2 separate regions of the Homo sapiens genome follow, and region 2 is linked to region 1. The links are contacts of gene promoters, found by promoter capture Hi-C in human tissues and cell types (Jung and others, 2019). All regions are on one chromosome and are shown on one strand. The core of a region is centred on a gene start or on the middle of the fragment in contact, and the rest is flanking DNA. Distances in the headings are between cores, read along the strand shown. Region 1 holds the start of COL4A4 (collagen type IV alpha 4 chain). Region 2 overlaps COL4A3 (collagen type IV alpha 3 chain).

Evidence for each region. Contacts are between HindIII fragments. The study calls those that stand out against the background at their distance.
Region 2: a fragment that was not itself captured here is called in contact with the fragment with the promoter of COL4A4 in region 1 in 2 of the 25 tissues and cell types used here (aorta and mesenchymal stem cells).

Annotation. Positions count from the first base shown.
Region 1 is chr2:227,162,193-227,166,087 of GRCh38, forward strand. It overlaps COL4A4 (collagen type IV alpha 4 chain), which reads right to left and starts at 2,013. Exons shown (of 48, transcript NM_000092.5): 1 at 1,815-2,013. It overlaps COL4A3 (collagen type IV alpha 3 chain), which reads left to right and starts at 2,432. Exons shown (of 52, transcript NM_000091.5): 1 at 2,432-2,621. The coding sequence starts at 2,535. RefSeq lists enhancers at 1,340-2,241, 1,516-1,615 and silencers at 1,886-2,265, 2,486-2,665. The HindIII fragment of the contact is 11,311 bases long and covers 1-3,895 here.
Region 2 is chr2:227,241,379-227,245,273 of GRCh38, forward strand. COL4A3 (collagen type IV alpha 3 chain) reads left to right here. Exons shown (of 52, transcript NM_000091.5): 4 at 2,942-2,986; 5 at 3,573-3,617. All of the region lies in intron 9 of MFF-DT (MFF divergent transcript), which reads right to left. Among named protein-coding and RNA genes, the nearest start is that of COL4A3, 79 kb to the left of the region's middle. The HindIII fragment of the contact is 3,783 bases long and covers 18-3,800 here.

The DNA.
Region 1 (3,895 bases), core at 763-3,262:
TTTCTTTCCAGCTCTGTATCTGCAACAGAAATGACTTGCAGTTGACTATTACTTCCTGTTCCAAAATTGATAAAACCAAGTCTAGTCCTCCAACAAAATGACTTGGTTTCAGGAAAAGGCAATTAAAATTCAAATTGAGGAATCTTCTGGAATTTGGCAAAGAGAAGCATTTAACATTAGCATTGAGATTTTTTTGTTTGTACTTTTTAAAATTAAATACTGTCAGTTTGTGAAACATAATCATGTGACTCTCAGAACTCTTGGACACTGTCACCTCATCAACAGAACACCTACCGTTTCATTCCACAAGAGTGGCAGAAGTTTCCAGAAGAACCTTCCCTACCAATGGAAAGAAGCTACTGCATACCACACAGCAACATCTGCGATATGGTCATAAATTCCGCAGTGTTCCCAAGTTGTAATGAAGAGTTTAATATATGTGCTTTTTATTATTCTACTAAGAATATATCCTAATTCAACATGTGCGTGAAATTTTCACATGTTCGTGAAAACAGGAGCTCTCATACTTGATTGTGCATGGGAATGTACAGGAAATTTTAAAACAGCTAGAGAGTCTGATAAAATTGGCTTGGAATGGTCTGGGTAGCAACATTGTTTTATCCTCCCAAAGATTCTAATGCACAACGATAGTTGAGAATCACTGGCATAAAAGACAGAAAGAAGACTGTAAGATTCATGCTATAGTCAAAATAAAAAGAATGGGAGGAGTGTCTTCATTCACTGTTAGGGTTTTGCCTACCTGCATGGCTACAAAGTTCTAAGATACCAATAGATCCCAAATTTAACTGCAAGCAAGTGGTTCCCTAAAATCAGTGACCAACTGCATGATCATACTTGGTGTCTGAAGCCAATTGCAGCAAATATCAGCAACACTGTTCCAAAGCAAAGATTCTTAACCTGAGGATGGAATTCAGGTGATCTGTATAGGAAACTCACATAGGAAAATAAGTTGCATCTTTACTTTTAGTAACATGTCACAGAAGTTCAACATGTCCTTCCCTTATGAGCACAGGCAACAGAGCACAGTAGTATTGGCAGTTCTTGATAATTTGCACCCACCGGTATTTTCATGTCACATTTCAGTTTGGGCTATTATCTCAAAATACCATTTGCAGACATCACTACTTTGACATTACTGTTGCTTAATCGGCCTGCTGTTAAATCAAGCTATTTAATGCAATAATGATGATGCACCTGTGTTAGTTACTATATCACGACTTGAGGACTTCCATAATTGCATTCCAATAAAACTGATTCTGATTTAATTGTATTTTATGCATTTCACAACATTCTTCTGAGAAACAGTCTAATTGCTTTACCAGAGCCAGTGTGGTCCGTAGCACAGGAAACGGCGAGAGCCGGCTGGAGGACCGTGCCCTGGCACATTTGCATCGCAGGCCACCCCCAGGAAGAGCGCACCCTGACCAGAGCTGAGTCTTGTTTTGCCCTGCATTTCCGCAGATAAGATTTGGCCTGAAAAGCAGTTCAACTCAGCGGAGAATAAGATGGGCTTTCTCTTTCTCCTCAGCTGCCTCTTTCTCTTGGCATTTTGGAGTGCCCCGACTGCCAGGCCGGTAACTCGAGCCTCCAAATTAATCAAAACACACAGCACCCAGTTAAAGCCCAGGCAGACAAGCCCAGGAGCCAGACGCGCTCTCCTCTGGTGACCCCCGGGCCACAACTCCCCAGCTGGGCCCGCCACCACCCCTTGAATGCCACGCTCCCTCCACTGCCCCTCCCAGGCAGGTGCCGGGGCCCCGGGACAGCGGTTGCCCCACCTATGGGCGCCTTACCTGTGGGGACGCCCGCAGCGCCAGGAGCTGCCGCCTTGCCACCCCACGGGACGCGCACCTCCAGCCCCAATCCACCCGCGCCCCGCTGCCTCTTCGCGGCGCTCTCGCAGCCAAGCCCGGCGGCCGCAAGTTGGAGGCGGGCTGGAGGCGGGGAACGCGGACCGCCGCGGGCGCGGGGAACAAGCGGGGCCTCCCGAGTGCAGACGCCCGGCGCGCCTCCCGCTTAATCTGGGCAGGGCCGCTGGCCACTCCCTCCACCCTGCGCAGCCACCTCCCCACCGCGCAGCCACCTCCCCACCGCACACCCCCAAACGCCCCACCTCCGACCGCACCCCACTTCCCCGCCTGGGCCCCCGGACCTTGGGAGCATCACCTCCTTAACCCCTTACCCTGGATCCGCGCCCACCTGCCCCTCAGGCGCCCAGCCCTTTCTCGCCTCCTGGGCACGATGCCCGGGTAGAAGGGACACTGCCTGGTAAGTTGGGAGGGAGGGGGTATGAGGGCGGGACCTGAGCCACGTCTTCCCTCCCTTGAAGCCACAACCAAAAAGCCTGGGTGGGGAGGGACGAACCGCGCGACCGAGCCCTACAAAACCCGCCCCGGCCGAGTGGCGAGGCGAGCTTTCCAGCCGGGCTCCCAGAGCCGCGCTGCGCAGGAGACGCGGTGGCCTGAGAGCCTGAGGGTCCCCGGACTCGCCCAGGCTCTGAGCGCGCGCCCACCATGAGCGCCCGGACCGCCCCCAGGCCGCAGGTGCTCCTGCTGCCGCTCCTGCTGGTGCTCCTGGCGGCGGCGCCCGCAGCCAGCAAGGTGAGTGGGGGCTGCGCGACCCCCACCCCCGCACTTCCATCCCTCCTCCACGCGTCCGGGGGACGCGCTGGCCCCACCCGCAGCGGCGCGGTAGTGGAGCGGCTGCCGGGCTAGTGGCGAGGCTGAGGGCTTCACGCAGGTCCCGGGACAGGCAGCGAGCGGAAGGGAGCAAGCGGGGATGCCCCGGAACAGGTGGAATGCGCGGGGCTGGGGGAAGAGGCGAGGAGGGGGCTTGTCCAGTGCCTAGGAGTCAGGGATGGCGGGGACAGGCCTCCAGAGGTCAGTAAATTAAAAAATAGACACATAGATAATCGCCAGGGATGATACGTGAGAACACCGGATGTGGAGATGCACGGTGTCACGCTGGTGAATCAAATCAAGCAGCTTGGCCCAGCGCACAGAGGGCTGGCAGGAGACACCTGCAGGGAGTCCCAGCCGCCACTTCCTAGCTGGGACGTCACACTAAACCCTGACCTCTCTGGGGCTCAGTTTCTTCCTTGCAAAACTTGCCCTCCAGTTTTCCTTTGCTATTGTTGGGAAAAGCAAATGCTATCACTGAAAAATTAAGAGCACCTTAGAAATCGAACTCAGGTTAGAATCATTTAAGCAATCTGACACTTTGATTTGATTTTTGACTTGGAATTTGAGTGAAACTGGATTTATTTAAATCCATCCCATATTTCTTATTCTTTGCCATTAAATAGAAATTGATTGTCCTCAAAACGATTGTGCCTCCTAGAGTTGACTCACTTGATTTTACCTTGTGAAAGTAAACTTTAACTTTTCAGATACTTGTTATTTTTACACTTTAAAAAGTTGATTTGGGTGATAACGTGGCATAGGAAATTTCATTTCCAAGGATGAGCAGATGTTTTTACAAATGTTATCATTGAGATTATGATTGGAAATTAACGGTCACATAAATATTTATATATGTTACATGAAAAGAATTTTAGAACCTATGGTCACATATAGGTTCTATATGTTTTTCCTATTTAAATTAAATGAAGACATTGCAGACATTATAGGTGAAACTAAAGCCCTCTCTGACACCCCCCATACCTCTCCCCATTTCCTTGTCTTCCAAGAGGTGTCCACTTTCACCACTTTCATATTTCATGTAGTTTTCCAAACATTGTCCATGAATTTACACACACACATATGAACCCACAAACATATATGTATGTTTTTGTTGGCCTTTTAACATAAATGATACTGTGCTGTATTCCTTTGCAACCTGTAGACCAGTCCATGTCAGTATTTAAGATCCTCCT
Region 2 (3,895 bases), core at 659-3,158, 79 kb after region 1:
AATATGTATTAGAGGCCAGACACAGTGGCTCATGCCTGTAATCCCATTGCTCTGGGAGGCTGAGGCAGGAGGATCACTTGAGCCCACGAGTTTGAGGTCAACCTGGGCAACATAAGGAGACCCAGTTTCTACCAAAAATACAAAAATTAGCCAGGTGTGGTGGCATATGCCTGTGGTCTCAGCTACTCAGGAGGCTGAGGTAGGAGGATTGCTTGAGCCCTGGAGGCGGAGGCTGCAGTGAGCCATGATCATGCTACTGCACTCCAGCCTGGGTAATAGAGCGAGACTCCATTAAAAAAATATATACGTGTGTGTATATATATATATGTATTAAAATAATGTATGAAATATGTAAATGATAATCAAAGCCAAAGCCAACCTACTGCATATGTACTCTGTGCCAGGCATTGGGCCATCTATTTCTCCCTGGATCTCATTTACTCCTCACATCAATCCCACAAATCATGACTGTGGTGATTTACAATGTAGTTCCCATCATTACCTCCACTACATGGATGAGAAAACGGACACAGAGCACTTGAGTAATTTTTCCTGGGTCACGCAGCTCACAGGAAGCAAAATCAGAGTTCAAACCTGGTTTGACACTGTGTGTGGGATTTTCCTCAAACCAAACAATTCTCCAACTCTCTGGATGCCAACTGGGTACCCCTCAATTCAGTTATGACATTAAATACCTGGGGTTAGTGCAGACCCCATAGGGTAAGGGCTCAGTCCCACAAGACTGTCCCTGTTTCAGGACTAGTCATAAGTAGTGGGTCCTCAGTTACCCATAATGCCGTCCAACTTGGCTACAAATAAATCAGGGGTTCCCATGACCTCCTCCTCTGCTTTGATAATTTGCTAAAGAGTCTCATAGAACTCATGGGAACATTTATCAGTTTATTATAAGGGATATGAATGAGAGATGAAGAGATACACAGGAGAAGGTCCAGAAGGGTCCCAAGTGCAGGAGCTTCTGTCGCCATGGAGTTAAGGTGCATTACCGTCCTGGAACGTGAACGTTCACCCACCCAGAAGCTCTCTGAACACCATGCTTCAGGGATTCTTATGGAGGTGTCATCATGTGGGCAGGATCAATTATAAACTCAATCTCCAGCTCCGCTTTCCTCACTGAAGGGTGCAGCTGGAGCTCAAAGTTTCAAGCTTCTAATCAAGACTTGGTCTTTCTGATGACCAGCCCCCATCTGGGAGCCCACCAAGAGTTGCCTCCTTAGAACAAAAGACACTTCTATCACCCAGGATATTCCAAGTGAGGTCAAACACCAAATATTAGAACAAAAGATGGTCTTTACTCCCCTATCACTCAGAATATTAGAAGGGTTTTAGGAGCTCTGTGTCAGGAACCAAAGGCACAGAACAAATATGTGTTTCTTATGTCACATATATGATGCCAGAATCAAACTCTTGAAACCACACCCACAGCTTACATGTAAAATGCAAAATCTTGCTGTTTTCCAGTAATCCTGCCATTTCCCTGTCTACCATATCCATGTATGTGTTCTTTTTGTCCATTTCTCCTTCTTCCGATCCTAATTTTGAAAAAGTCATCCAGATTCTGGGCAGAAACTGAACACTGACTTCCTCTAAGGCATGGACCCAGGTTTTCTTCCATTTCTATTGGTAGAACGAGTTTGCCACTTCAACCCTGGACTTAGATCAGCCTAATGCCAATTCCGTTTTTAAAAAAATTGTTATCTGTAGCCTACTCTGTTTAATTCTCTTCAGCATTTCTTTAGAGATGCTGAAATTCATTAAAATAGTCACAAACACATGGCACTTAGTATGGGTTACATGAGTGCAGGCATTCCAGAAGATTAATCCAGAAAACCTGAGTACCATGTTGTCATAGATTGATATTTTAAAGCATGTAAGGCTTACAGATATGTATGAATAGCTACAAAAGATAATACAATCAAAGGCAGACAATTAGAGAATATTAAAACCTGACCAAAAAGATGTTTTAGATTTACAAGATTCCTATCTTAATTTTAAATGTTTTCTGCATGAAAAAAGTTTACAATGAGAAAGTAAAACCTGCAAGTAAAACCTTCTGCTTTCGGCATCACGTGAATAGAATTCTGTGGGAAGGGGAATGGCCTTGAACACAGCCATGCACCCCGGAATTCCGCCATAGATGGGAGAGACTGACTTTGGCCTTGACAGTGCAATCTCAGAGGATTCTGTAACAACCCTTTTCTCAAATAATAACAATAAAATTAAAAATCAAAACATACTGAAACTCTCTGGAATGATGAAAATGGCTTTTGGACAATGAAACTTTCACACCACGTGGCCTAGCTGAAACAGTCACCATTTAAGCTTATTCTCCAAGAAATAGGACGTCGAAACTGAATGCATTACATGCCCAAAGCAAGTTTATCTCTGGTTCAGGCAGTCCTTACTTGGCTATATATTTCCTTGTGCATGTCAGGCACATTTTGTTAATAGAGTGTTTCTTGTGCACAGAAATACTGGCTGGCATTCTCATCCACAACTGTAGTTGTGTCATTCATTTTTATCAGACCTCAGCAGCTGTGAGGCTAATTAGGACTTTTGCACAGACTTTAATGTGCACAAGAATCACTAAAGAATCATGTTAAACATGCAGATTCTCGGTCAATAGTCTGGGAGGTGAGGCAGATCTAAGATTCTACATTTCTGATAAGCTTCCAGGTAATGCTAATGCTGCAGGCCCCAAACCCCACTTTGAGTAGCAAGGGTTTGAATGAATTTTTGTCTTTTCTGATAAACAATTATCAAGTTCCAATGAAATAAGCAAGCAATTGAATCTTATTAACAATGAAATAATCAGAAGGGCAAAACAGCTTGGCATGTGACTGAGACTGGGTTTGATGTATGGGTTTCTTAGTGCCAAATAATTTTCAGAGTGTTTACTTTTTCTTTTTTCACTTGAATCTAGGGCTTTCCAGGACTTCCAGGACTCACGGGTTCCAAAGGTGTAAGGGTTAGTAGTCCAACCAGTCCACCCTGATCGTTAAAAGATCAGCTTTTCACAGTAAGAGTTATACAAATGTCAGAAAGGAGTACACTGTGTATGGTTCCATAGATGAAGTTCAAGAACAGGTAATACTAATCTGTAATGGTAGATGTCAAAGGAGTGGTTACCACATTAGGGGCAAGTGTTAAACTGACCAAGAAAGGCCATGAAGGAACCTCTGGAGTGATAAAGATGCTCTGTGTCTGATGAGATGATGGTATATAAAACTGCACATAGGTCAACCTTTGTTAAGCTGTTCAATTAAGCTGTTCTCAAAAGATTGGAGCACTTCATTGCATGCAAATTGTACCTTAGGAATCGATCCAAAAAAGCCAAAAATAATCTTAATGATATCTTTTTAAGAGTTACATAAATGTGAGATTTACAAAAGTTTGTTAAACCTTTAGTATTTGTTTTCCCAATCGTTTCGAGCTATTCCCAGTTATAGTGGAGGAAAAAGATTATCGCAATGGTAAATAAATTTATGTTTATAGATTGAACATTTTTAAAGTTTTTTTTTTTTGCCACCCCCTCCTTTTTCCTATGTCTTCAGGGAATAAGTGGATTGCCAGGATTTTCTGGTTCTCCTGGACTTCCAGTAAGTAATGGGAAAAATCCGTAGCTAGAAAATTTAAAAGTAAGCTCATTTTAATAAAGATGTTAAAACAGTCGTGCAAGAAAATGTGTTCTGATGCATTTGTTACATGAAGAAAATAGCACCTTAGGATGGTATATTATACTAGTGTGTGGATTTATATGACATATGAGTCAAAATGTACTTCCTGAAATACAAGCAGGACAGGATAGGATAGGGTAGGATAATTAGTAAATTATATGGTAAGTCGGCCCTCCATATCCAGTGATTCCACATCCATG